Linked DNA regions of Homo sapiens: regions 1, 3 and 4 are each linked to region 2. Evidence: promoter capture Hi-C in 16 types of primary human blood cells and fetal thymus (Javierre and others, 2016). All regions are on one chromosome and are shown on one strand. The core of a region is centred on a gene start or on the middle of the fragment in contact, and the rest is flanking DNA. Distances in the headings are between cores, read along the strand shown.

Region 1 (3,339 bases), core at 54-2,553, 890 kb after region 2:
GCTGGGATAGTGTTTGCTTATTCCAATTCTGCTGACTACGTATTTCCAGGCTTTATAATCCACAGTGGGAGAAAGCCTCCCTTAGTAAAGGCCTCCCTTCTCACTCTGCTTACACACTAATTGGTTGAAGACTTTTCTCTTTCCTCTAAGGCCTGACAGAATGCTGCAAGACAGCCAATACTTCTCTGAATTTTTAAACCACCTCCTCTAAGTCTACTGCTTTACAGGTACATGATCATCATTCCAAAGTAAGTATAAGGTTGATACCACTAAAGGTTTTCAGATGCAAAACCGGGCACCTCTAACATCCCAGCCTGACCTAGAGGAGTCTTAGCATTCTTTTTCACCCACTCTAACCATTGAGCCAACTCTCCATTAGAGGGCCTTTTCTTTTAAAAATTCCCACTTCTTGAGGCCTAATTTTATATCAGTTAGGATTCTTTAGGAGGATGACTGTCCTCTCATCCTCCTCCCAGCAGACACACACCACCTTTTAATTTTAATTAGTTTGTAATATCTCCTTTACTACTCTGTGATTGAGCTCATAGATAATTTAACCCATCCATCATATAATTAAAAATATATCATGCCCTAAAAGTAGTATAGTGGAGAAATGAAAGGACAGTAATATATAATAGAAAGACGTGCATGTATTAATATATAAATGTTGTCTCATAATTGCACTAGAACACATGATTGAGTCATCAAGAGTTTCGACTGTGAGATAGAATCACCATGTGGTAATAAAAGCAGACTAATAGAAACATATTTTCTTGGCAACTCAAGCTTCATAAGTGGCATTATCATTGGTAACCTGATCATCTGAAAAGGTGAACAAATCTTGAAAGTGTTTCAAACAAAAGCACAATCTTCCCCTGATTTAAACAGTGGAAAATTCAGTGTGTATCAAAAGGGATACAAAGTAAAAACACTTAATGTATGTGCAAAATGGAGTTAGGCTCTAGGCTCAGATAATAAAGGAGTTTTTCACCTACCTGGAAGTCTAATGGGTCATTAAAAAATTGTGCAATATGAGGGAAGATTCTTTGTAATGCAGACTTATCCCACAAATTCCATCTCGCTTCTTGGTCTCCATATATTAAATGTCAGTAACATCCCCCACCCCCAATTATTTTGACAACAAAAGTATGTGTTTGATTTTTCAAGATGGTACTTATTAAAAAACATCTTCAGGTCAATTCAAACTGACTTAAATTTTGAAGGGGATTTTACATTTTTCTCTCAGTCCTTCCCTGTGCAATAGTTTCAACCTTTACAAGATGGCTGCAACAGTTCTGGGACTCTGATCAAAACCTTGTCCAGAGAGAGAGAAACAGCATCTCTTCTGGTGGCTTTCTAGAGTGAAGAAATTTCTTTTGCAGAAACATCAGGAAGTATGTTTCAGGTCTCACTGGATCAAGATGTAGCCTTACAATTTCTGAGTCCATCAGGGGAATTACTTGAACCAATCACACCCACTCTGGGAACTGAGTAAGGTCAGCTATCTTAAAGCACAGAAGTGGATGGGGAATGGGTGGATATCAAAATAAAAGTCAGGAATGAAGGGAGAAGGAGATTCCAGATAGGCAAGCAAAAATATCCCCTGTATATTTGCAAAGCTGAAGGTTGACTTTATTCAGGGAGATTCCAGGTTTGTTTGTACCATGGAGGACCACCTGGGCCAGAAGTTACACATACATGGTATGTGATGGATTCCTAAAGCGTAGTTAGAGTAGCTGGGAATGGGAGCTAGGGGCCCGGGAAAGGAGGAGGCGGGTGCCGCAAGCGCAAGTCCCGACGAGCTGCCTCATAAAAGGATCAAAGCTTTGTGAGATCCCTCTGCCAAAGCTCTTGCAGCCTGTGACAGGAACCCAGTGAAAGATGGGTGGGAGTGGAAATTGAAAGAGACCCCTTCATAATTTCCTGAGGAAACTCACCTGTTTGGCAATGACTTTGCTCTGCAAGTTTTCCTTTTGCATCCACATGTCTTCATTAACTCTGAACTCACAGGAAAGTGTGATGGTTGTGAAATGGAAAAGCTACTCTTGGCAGACGCAGGTACCTCAAATTCAAAAGGAGAGGTTATGCAGTACTATCTGGCACCCACATGACCATTTTCCTCTCCTTTTCCTCCTGCTCTCAGGTGCATCTCTGGTCCTATCCATCTCATCTATACAGTACCTCACAACCAATCTTATCATTATTCCTGCTGTTGCCTTCACATCTCTCCACACTCCCACTGCAGCATCTGTCTTCAGCCTGTTTCCTCCAATCCCTTCTGCTTGTTATGACACAGACATAAACATCTTATCTTAAAACAAAGCTCACACCCCTCACTTCCTCAAACACTTTCCAGTGAGTATCCATTGACTACAGAATGAAATACTAATCCTAGCCCTTAATGTCTATAGTCCTGCCAAACCCAGTAGAGCTCTACATGCTGGTCAGCAGTTTGACAAACCTTTTGTATTGTGTTTCTGCTCTATACTGGGCATTGGGCAAGGTGTAAGAACTGCTAAACATGATTTTTCACACTCTTCTTTGTAAAAGTTATATTTCAAGTCAGGTCATTTCTAGCCATCAAAGCCTGTGGAGTATGGTCTCCCCTTAGAGTGCTTGGGTTGCATTTCTCTCATGACTCATGCATTGTGGTCCTTTTTAGTCTTGACTAATATCCCAACACCTTAGACTATGACTCAGTCATAGCTGAGTCCCCTCATCTCCCTCTCATGATCCTAGTATCTGGCTCAATTTGTGGTAAGAAGTGTGTATATGCACTGAGTATCTCCTGTAGTTCTGGAACTATGGTAAAATATCATACTCTGGGACTATCACCAAGTGTTCCACTCCTCTGGACTCTACCCTGTTGAAAGCAGAAGAAATTGATTGTCCTCATTGCATACACATTCTATTTTTAATCAGTTATTTTTCAATGTTGAAGAGTGTTGCTGATTTTTTTAATGTTGAACTTTTTTTCACAGAAAATTAAGCTCTTACACTCTTGTACTATTCTTTTGTTGTTCATTGTAGATTTGAAAACCATAATGCTACCAACCTCAGATATTTTGGCGTGTGTCCTTCAAGCTTTTGCTCCTAATAGTTCAGAACTGCATACAGAATAAACATTTGTAATCTTGCCTTATTTGGCGTTATGCCATAATTTTCCTGGCCACAATATTTTGTGGCCACAGTATTTTACTCCCTGTCCTTTTTGCTGCCATAAGCAACAGTGTGATGAACATCTTCACATACAAAAGCCTTTCTTACTTTTATGACTACTTCTCAACGATATAATTCCAGAATTGAAATTTGCTGGGGCAAAAGAGTATAAGAACATTA
Region 2 (3,219 bases), core at 326-2,825:
CTGAGTGTATTGTCCTGGGCCTTTGGAGCTTCAGGTGAATCCTGTTACATGTAATAGTAATAACAGAGCTAGTTATATTGTCACCATGTGCTATGCACTATTTTAGATGCTTTATGTATTTTATTTGATCCTCATAACTATCATATGAGAAAGGTACTATTGTTCATCCCTATTTCACAGGTAAGTAAACTGAAGCCCAAAGAAGCTTCATGACTTGTTCAAGGTCACACAGCAAGCAAGTGGCAGACCTAGAATCCAAACTCAGAATATGGTTCCCAACTCTGTACTTCTAACCCTATTCTATCTTTTTTATTTTTTATTTTTTTGAGACAGACTCTCCCTCTGTCGCCCAGGCTAGAGTGTAGTGGCACGATCTCAGCTCACTGCAGCTTTCGCCTCCCAGGTTCATGTGATTCTCATGCCTCAGCCTCCGGAGTAGCTGCAACCCTATTCTTTTTTCTTTTTTTTTTTTTTTGAGACGGAGTCTCGCTCGGTCACCCAGGCTGGAGTGCAGTGGCGCGATCTCGGCTCACTGCAACCTTCGCCTCCTGGGTTCAAGCGATTCTCCTGCCTCAGCCTCCCGAGTAGCTGGGACTACAGGCATGCACCACCACACCCGGCTTCTTCTGTGTGTGTGTGTGTGTGTGTGTGTGTGTGTATTTTTTGTAGAGAAGGGGTTTCACCGTGTTAGCTAGGATGGTCTCGACCTCCTGACTTCGTGATCCGCCTGCCTCGGCCTCCCAAAGTGCTGGGATTACAGGCGTGAGCCCCCGCGCCCGGCCGCTGCAACCCTATTCTATCTTGCCTGAGGGTTCCACTTTTCTCCATGACACTCTGGGGCAGGCTACAGATAGCACAGCACGCGCCCTCGCATTGCGCAGATGTGGCTCAGATCCCACGCTGCCATTCGGTAGATATGTGTCTTTAGATAAGTGACTTAACTTTCCCGAATTTTAGAGTCCTCATCTAAAGATTCTAATACCTTCCTGACAGAGTGAGTGTCTGGTTGGGAGGATTCCTCATTTACTTTCCCCATCTCTCTGCAAAGAGAAAGGAGTTAAAATTGCATGGAAGTCAAACCCGAAATTATAAAAGCGACATCAAACATGGGTGAAGGGAGGGAGACCTAAATCATTACTTAGTTTAAAAAAAAAATGTAACAAATACCTACTGGCTGCCAGGCACTCACTGGCATTGGTGCTCAGGGCAATGAATCCAGTCCATCTCTCCGGGTCATTCACACACCAAGGCCCTGCTCACCTTTGGAAAGCTGGGGGACTGAGTGGGGAGGGCACGGTGTGGTGTCAGCCTGAGCCCACTGGATGACCCTAATCACCAAACATCTGCTTCCTTCTCTGTAGCTGTGACCCTGATACCGCGTGGTGTGCTCCGAACACATGGTGCCCAGAACGAAGGCGGCGTCCAGAAGCCCTAGGTCCCAGAGGTCCGCTCAGCGGCAGGCGCATAAGGCGGGGCCGGCGCGGGCCTTTCCTTCCATCGGAACCGTTCTCCCGGGGCTGAGTCCCTGCCCGGACTCCGAACGCCGAAGACCAGGGGCCGGAAGCGCGCGCCGCCACTGCCACGCCGTGTCAGTCGGGAGGGAGGGAGCGAGCAGGCGAAGCCGCGGAGGACGGGGTGAAGATGGCGGCCTTCTCCGGTGCGTTTGTGGAAACTCTGGGGGTGGTGGGGCGGCTTGTTGCACGCCTCAGCCCTGGGGCCGCCCGCGGAGAGCTAAAGGGGCGGGAGCGGACAGGGGTCAGGGAGACAGAAGGGCGCTGTCCGCTGCAGTCCCTGATGGACCCGCGTTGCGGGATCAGGGGCGGCCGCGGCTCGGGTTCGGAGGACGATTCTTCCCAGGAGCGGGCCGGAACGTCCCTCCCCCTGCCCTTTCCCTTCTACCAGTCTCCACTTGGCTTTCCTGCCAGTGCACCTTCGGCTGCAAAATCTAGGCGGCGGCGTTGCTCTGGCGGCTCCCAGACGCCTGGGCCTCCTGCCTCTTAACGTGGCAGTGACCCTTTGGGAACCCTTTTCTGCCCGCGGCTCATCTGGGCTTGGCCAGGCAGAGAGGCGAGACGGCGTGGGGAGGAGTCATTGGGGAAAAATGACGATCCTGCCTCTGTCCAGTTTTTTCAGGCCCTTCCAAAACGTCCCAGGCATAAACCTGATCTTTATTTGTTCTTAAACGTTGTTATATCAACATTAATGTTCAGTGTTGAAGCTAAAGGGAAAGCATTTTCATTAACGTACGCACCAGTCCAACATAAGTTTGGAAAATTCATATTTATTTGCCGTCTGCTACCCTCCTTTATTCCAAATATGATTTGATATGGCTTATCGAACCCTACAGTTGATATTTTCGCCTCTTGCTTTATCATCCTCCTGTTAGGCATCCAGTTTTAGGAAGCTGTAATCAGCCTTAAATGCGCTAAACGTGATACATTTATGTAGCACTTATGTAACGTTTATTGCTATATAAATGTATCACGTTAGGCCTAATGTCCTTTAATGTTATTAACTTTTTAAGATGACTTCAGATGTAGTATTTTATATTTTTTAGTTTTCTTCTGTAAGAATATTAGGAATTCCATATCTCCAGTCATGTAAGATATTTTTTTTCTTTTTTGGGGGGGAGAATGGGGGGGTGGGGGGATGTAGTCTCCTTCTGTCGCCCCAGCTGGAGTGCAATGGTGTGATCTTGGCTCACTGCAGCCTCCACCTCCCAGGTTCAAGCAATTCTCCTGCCTCAGCCTCCTGAGTAGCTGGGATTACAGGCGCCTACCACCATGCCCTGCTCATTTTTGTATTATTAGTAGAGACGGGGGTTTCACCATGTTGGCCAGGCTGGTCTCGAACTCCTGACCTCAGGTGATCCGCTCACCTCGGCTTCCCAAAGTGCAACAGTCATGTAAGATTTCTGACTGTTTCAGTTACATCTTCTAATAGGATTCAATTGGAAACTGCTCAGAGTTGTTGCTGTTTTTCTTTTCCCAACATTCTCCTAAAACGATTTTAGAGCCAAGGTCTGTAGGATAGTTCTAGGTAGTCATTTTATAGGTTCACATCTTTGGGAGTCATACACAAATTTCATGAATGTTAGAGGTAAAGGACTGGAAAAAGTCTGTGATATGAAATAAGACAAAACTGGAATTTCACGAATGTTTCTAATTTTTCCTTAACTGTTAAAAGTATTATACTTAAGGTCCGCTTTCAAAGAAAACT
Region 3 (3,027 bases), core at 265-2,764, 910 kb after region 2:
TCTTCTAGGTTGTACCTTCCATATGGCCTTTGCCATTCTGTATTGTGGCTATGCCTGTTGAGAGTTTAAGCTTGTTGATGCCTGTGTCATGCTTTATTTATACTATTCCCTGGCATCAAATTGGTGTGCAGGGAGTGTTTTCTGGAGACTTCTAGTGATTTGGTTTCCTGGACCTTAGTAAAAGAAACACAGTAATTAGGAAAAGAATGGTTGAAGAAGACATTCAGGAGAGACAGTTATGTGAGTCCTAAGAAAATCACAGTTGGCATTGCAAGATACCGAGGGAGGAGACAAAGGACCTAAAACCAGATACAGATCTGCATTACTGCTCAGGATGCTAATGGGTGTTTAGAATGACATCTCTGAGTGGTTTTGAAATTACGTAGTTATGTATGGCAGATGGGAATTCAGAATTTCTGGAAATGTCAAATACATTTCAGAAAGATGTCTATTAAAAAGAGCTTACTATACTTGTTTGGTGTTTGACAAGCTCAACTTCAGTTATCTGGAAAAGCCCAAGGTGCCAGATGAATGAGACATTACCTCAAATTATAAACTGACAAGATTTGATTAAATGCTATCATACGCCCAGCATTGTGCAACATGTACTGTGACAAATGAAAGGCTGGACTTTCAAGGAAGTGAAGAGGCAAAGCTGGCACAGCAAAAATGGTCAGAGTACAAGTTAGCACCCAATGGACTGGCACAGATCAGTGAGTGACTGTCCATTAGCAGAGGGAGGAGAGATCAAGCTAGGCTAAAAGAGACAGGGGAGGGAGGCTTTCTACAAGAGGTGGTACTTGGGTGAACTCTTGCAGACTGGGAAGATCGAGATTAGTAAAGGTAAGGGAAGAGAAGATTCTCCACCTGCTGGGGGCCACTCAAGCAAAAGCTTTGAGGTGAGACTGGCAAGAGTAAGTGAGATCAGCAGTTCAGCAGAGTAGCAAGTAGGATAACATATTGCATAATATGTTGGATTTGGGGACTATTGACAGTTAGGCAGAAGTACTTGGATCTAGATGTGGAAGTCAAGAGAGAGAAACAAATGAGCTGACAGGTAAGTAGGGCAATTATCTAGTCTAGTTTCCACTAGATGATCAAGTCACAAGTAGCCTGGTTGCATGGAATCCATCAACATCTCTTTGTCCCATCAACCAACCACAACCTGAGACTCAGGCAGCAGTGTGTACAGACTGCATTGCACAGATTAACAGGCTCTGGTCTTCCTCGGTAGGATCTTGCTTTGAATATTTCATCTCAGAAAGGTTCAACTAATTTATTTCACAGACTGAGAAACTATGTGTTAGAGAAGCAAAGTGATATAGCACTAGTGATGGAGCTGAGATAGAACCCAGATCTCAATACCCTGACTCCAAGTCCAGGATTATCATTATCTTGTACATGCCCTTTCTCCTCTGTATTTGCACATAATCTGTTCCATTAAATATTTTATTTATAGCTTGCTTTATACCAGCAGGCTTTAAAGGCAATAATCACATAAGTACAAGAAGAGTAAAGAGTTTCAGGAAGGAAAGATGGAGCATCCAAGGACCATCAAGATTGGAAAGTTGATACTATCTGTAGGCCTGAAAGCCTAAGAAGAGGAGTGGTTACCCCTGCAATCTGAGCACTGTGGTGATAGGAGAGGGCCCAGGCCAAGAGTAGAGGAACTCAGGCATTGTTAAACCTGCAGCCCAGAGGTGGTGGGGGTGGGGGTGGTGGGCGTGAAGCTGCTCATTAATATCCTGACAAACCCAACTGGAACCTGATGGCAAGGGGGTCAAATAGTGGAGTCCATCCAGATCACTACCCAGGGCACAGAGCAGGGACGAGAAGGGTAAAGAGCTGATCTGGAGGAGCAAATGGAGGTGATTCTTGGAAAGGTTCTGTGATGCTCTTGTCCACCACCTCGCCACCCTCACTCCTTGTTCCTGAGACCATCACAGTCTTTTCCTTACCTTTGTCTTCTGCCACTGCATAAGGGTAGACACAGGAGATGAAAGGCGGCCTTCAGAAAACTCATGAAGACTTGCTGACAAAGGGGAAAACCAGTGGGATACAAATTCAGAATGCATTAATTTCTTCTAGGTCCAAGGACACAGAAGCGGAGAAAGAATATACTAGACTTTCTTTTATTTAAGCTTTTACTTTAAGTTCAGGGATATATGTGCAGGTTTGTTATATAGGTAAATTTGTGTCATGGAGGTTTGTTGTACAGATTATTTCATTACCCAGGTATTAAGCCTAGTACCCATTAGTCATTTTCCCTGATCTCTCCCTCCTCCCACCGTCCACCCTCCAATAGGCCCCATTGTGTGTTGTTCCCTTCTATGTGTCCATGCGTTCTCATCATTTTTAACTGTCACTTATAAGCAAGAATAGGTGGTATTTGGTTTTCTGTTCTTGCATTAGTTTTCTAAGGATAATGGCCTCCAGTTCTGTCTATGTCCCTGCAAAGGACATGATCTTGTTCTTTTTCATGCATGCATAGTATTCCATGGTATATATTACCACATTTTCTTTATCCAGTTTGTTATTGATGAGCATTTAGGTTGATTCCATGTCTTAGCTATTGTGGTAGTGCTACAATGAACATATGTGTGCATGTGTCTTTATAATAGAATGATTTATATTCCTTTGGGTATATACCCAATCATGAGGTTGCTGGGTCAAATGATATTTCTGTCTTTAGGTCTTTGAGGAATCACCACATTGTCTTCCACAATGGTTGAACTAATTTACACTCCCAACAACAGTGTATAAGCATTCTTTTTTTCTCCACAACCTCGCCAGCATCAAGAATACACTAGACTTTCTGGATTAGGCCATGATGTGTTAAAATGCCAGAAAAGGCGTGAATAAGGAAGCTATCTTCCTAGGTGAATAAACAAATAAATAATGCAAAAACAGTGACTCATGAGGACCCAATCCCCCTAAGCAGAACTCCAGGGGCCACTGCACTGGGACAGAAGGTTGATGTCCTCTCATGTCTTCCCCACCTTCACAGTCCTCAGGACACCAAACTTC
Region 4 (3,058 bases), core at 523-3,022, 930 kb after region 2:
TTCCATTTCATCACCCTCATTGTCCTGCTCACAGTCATTCTCACACATTGACTCCAGCAGTATTTCCCTAACACTGATGGGTCCCAGCCTCTCCTGAGCATTTTACATAGTAAACCTTCCTTCCCACCCTAGACCTGCCCATCAATCGCCTGAAAACAGCCTTGTGGATTCAGGCTCTCCCTGAAGTAGTAAATAGCCAGGACCAGGGGCGGGATCTTGCAGCCAAGCTTTCTGTGTGTCCTGCATTTCCCACCCAAACTCAGGGAGTGGCTGCATACAGTTCACATTCAGCAAATCGCCCTTTAGATACACATGAACATCCCCAATAATGAGAAGCTCCCTACCCCCTAAGAAAGCCCATTCCATGACTGAAAAGCTGTGGTGATGGGGAAGCTGGACATGAGCATTCCTATTTTTTAAAAAATTAAGGGAACACAAATTGGTGTACGATTTTTGGAGGACCATTTGTCAATTTGCATCAGGAACTTTAAAATTGTTCTTACGTTTCAATCAGCTAATTCTGCTAGTTCAATAAGCTAATTCTGTTCTTTGAAATTTATGCTACCAAGAGAATCCAAAACAGCGGGGGAAAATGTTATATTTTTGGATGTTAAAATTGCAATAGTATTTATAATAGCTTACATATTACTGAATACATGTATAATTAAATATTTTAGTTGTCCTAATTCTTGCATAGACAACATGTGTATAGACACTGAAAGAAGACTTTCTAAAGTACTGTTTTTTCACCTTAACTCTCCACTAGAATGCCCTGGATAAATTAAATGAAAAACTCAGGATAAAAGGGGTATCAGTATTTGTTCAAACTGCCCAGGTGATTCTGATGTGCAGCCAAGGTTAGGTGCTATTGTTCTAGAAGGAGTTTTACAGTCATCAAAATGGCTCATTTAAATGGATCTAGCTCATATTCTCCAAAAACGGAAGCAAGAGGACAAGCACTCCAGCTTCTTGATATGGGACTGTCTGGAGCAATGATTGTTAGGCACTGCTACTCCCATGGCTAAGAGACTCAGTGCTTGGACCTACCCATGACATGCTGCTCACCCCAGCCCATCCAAGTTCCCTCATACTGCTCACAGAGATGAGGTATGCTGGCCCTGCTGGGAAGCCCAGATAGTTTTGAAGAGAGGAGGTTCAAACGTGACTCACAGACTGGGTCTCTTTAACTTGCCAAGCAATTCTTCGTATGTCGCTTCCAAACTTGGGGCCTCTATTTTCTTTGTAAGATGAAGATATCTCCTGCCTCACCGGAGTGCTGCACGGTTTGGATCAGAATGTAGATGGAACCACTTGTGCCCTGCACACAATAAATTGCCTCTGCGCACTGGAAGTTGGCTGAGTGAGGAGACAGTGCTTGATGTTGCATCAGAGTGTGGGAAGCCGAGAGGACCACTCTGAGGAGCCCAGGATGTGCAAGCTCATCTGAGTGGTCTTTCTGAGACCAGACCCTTCATCCTACTTAACTGTGAGGACCTGAATCTGGTCATTTCCTCCCAATAGTGTTCCTCCCTCTGGTGGTTTCTGTCCCAATCAGCCAGCCTTCTTTGTCCCTCATTGTCACCTGCATTCCCTACAGGTATTGACTTCTCTGTTAAATTACATTCAGGGGATCAAAATTCCCAGTTTTATTCCCTCTGCTTATGTTTCTGGCACAAAGTGAGAAAAGCATCAGAAAATAAATTCAACCAGTTCTCTTTATATGTCTATATTTTTTTCTGGAAACAGCTCTTCTTGTCCCACATCACAGTTGGAGGCATAATTCACAGTTTCTGTTCCTTCAGCTTCTGGGCCTTCAAAGAGGCAGGGTAAAGCCAAAGTGAGATATCTGGGAGTGTGTCTCTGAGAACCAGCATCTAGATCATTCTGGATCTGGTGCATCTGTTTGTTTGTTCACTTATTGAAAATAAAAGCACATTGTTGGTGTACTGTGTGGTTTCTAGTATAGAGCAGCATTCTTGGATGGGCATTTGTCTGGAGGCAGAGCACAGACAATTGGGAAATAGAAGGCAAAATTCATCCAGAATTCAGCCATTCCTCACTACTCCTGCCATGATCTCCCCAGTCCAAGTTGCCATCATTTCTTACCTGGATGACTGTGGTAGCTTCCTAAGGGCTCTCCCCATTTTCCTTCTTTTCCCCTGCCCCACCTCACAGGCTAGTCTCAAATAAGTCAGCATGTTCTTTTGAAAAGGTAATTTATACTATGTCATTCCTCTGTTCAAAACTCTACAGTGACTTACCATTTCACTCAGGGAACTCAGAGTCCCAATCCAGTAAGGCACTGCTGGCTCTGCCATGGCCCAGACCCCACTCCTAGCTCTCCAGTTTCCTGCTCTCTGCCCATCTTATTCCAGCCACACAGCCTCCTTGTTCCAACACTACAGTTGGAGTACTCCTGCCGCAGGGCTTTGGAGGTACCTCTGCTCTCCCTCCACTTCACTTGTTGCTTGCAGTTCTAACCCAAGGCACTTTATTTTGCAGCCCATTTAAGAATGTTGAGTGAGCTGCAGCCTTAGTACAGGAGACAACAGGGAGGTCTGGAAGTTAGACATGTTAAGAAACACTAGTCTGTTCATTAAGGATTTCCTCGTCTGCTTCTACCTGAAGCCGAACATCTGGATGAAATACGCAAAAGCCAGCTTACATATTTGGGTGTTCTTCACATGGCAGTGTTTGCCAGAAGAATGCAGACCATCTGGTGACTGTTGCAGTTTTCACTTTTTATCCTTGGGTTAAGGTTCAGTTACTTTAAATTCAAGAAACATTTGTTTACACCAACATTTTACTAGAGCCTGTGTTGGTGGCAGGGGATACAGAGATTAATGATTCTCACCGTAGAAGAACTTGAAAGCTAGAGGAATGAGTTGCAAGGTCACAGGTAATTCTACCCAAGGCAAAAAGTGCCAGGTGAAGGCTCTAGATCCAGGGGTTGTCTCACAGAGGGGTTCCCAATAGCCAGTCATAGGCAGCTAGGGAGCTGGAGCTTGAGAAGTTGTAGTCTAGTAAGGCAATGGGACAGAATCTAAAGCTCAGTTGA

The links. The method cuts DNA at HindIII sites, captures the fragments that hold promoters and counts their contacts. A CHiCAGO score of 5 or more calls a contact.
Region 1: a fragment that was not itself captured here is called in contact with the fragment with the promoter of DDX1 in region 2 in 1 of 17 cell types (M2 macrophages); the score reaches 5.3 in M2 macrophages.
Region 3: a contact is called between a fragment that was not itself captured here and the fragment with the promoter of DDX1 in region 2, in 1 of 17 cell types (M2 macrophages). The highest score is 5.7, in M2 macrophages.
Region 4: a contact is called between a fragment that was not itself captured here and the fragment with the promoter of DDX1 in region 2, in 1 of 17 cell types (M2 macrophages). The highest score is 8.7, in M2 macrophages.

Annotation. Positions count from the first base shown.
Region 1 is chr2:16,476,332-16,479,670 of GRCh38, forward strand. LOC105373444 (a long non-coding RNA gene) reads right to left here and starts at 2,018. Exons shown (of 3, transcript XR_939753.3): 1 at 1,938-2,018. The HindIII fragment of the contact is 1,038 bases long and covers 785-1,822 here.
Region 2 is chr2:15,590,293-15,593,511 of GRCh38, forward strand. DDX1 (DEAD-box helicase 1) reads left to right here and starts at 1,576. Exons shown (of 26, transcript NM_004939.3): 1 at 1,576-1,657. The coding sequence starts at 1,642. It overlaps LOC124905975 (a long non-coding RNA gene), which reads right to left and starts at 1,477. Exons shown (of 2, transcript XR_007086224.1): 1 at 1,168-1,477; 2 at 1-1,040. RefSeq lists an enhancer at 1,615-1,674. The HindIII fragment of the contact is 5,190 bases long and covers 204-3,219 here.
Region 3 is chr2:16,496,269-16,499,295 of GRCh38, forward strand. No RefSeq gene overlaps it. Among named protein-coding and RNA genes, the nearest start is that of CYRIA, 170 kb to the right of the region's middle. The HindIII fragment of the contact is 1,249 bases long and covers 891-2,139 here.
Region 4 is chr2:16,515,775-16,518,832 of GRCh38, forward strand. No RefSeq gene overlaps it. Among named protein-coding and RNA genes, the nearest start is that of CYRIA, 150 kb to the right of the region's middle. The HindIII fragment of the contact is 3,095 bases long and covers 226-3,058 here.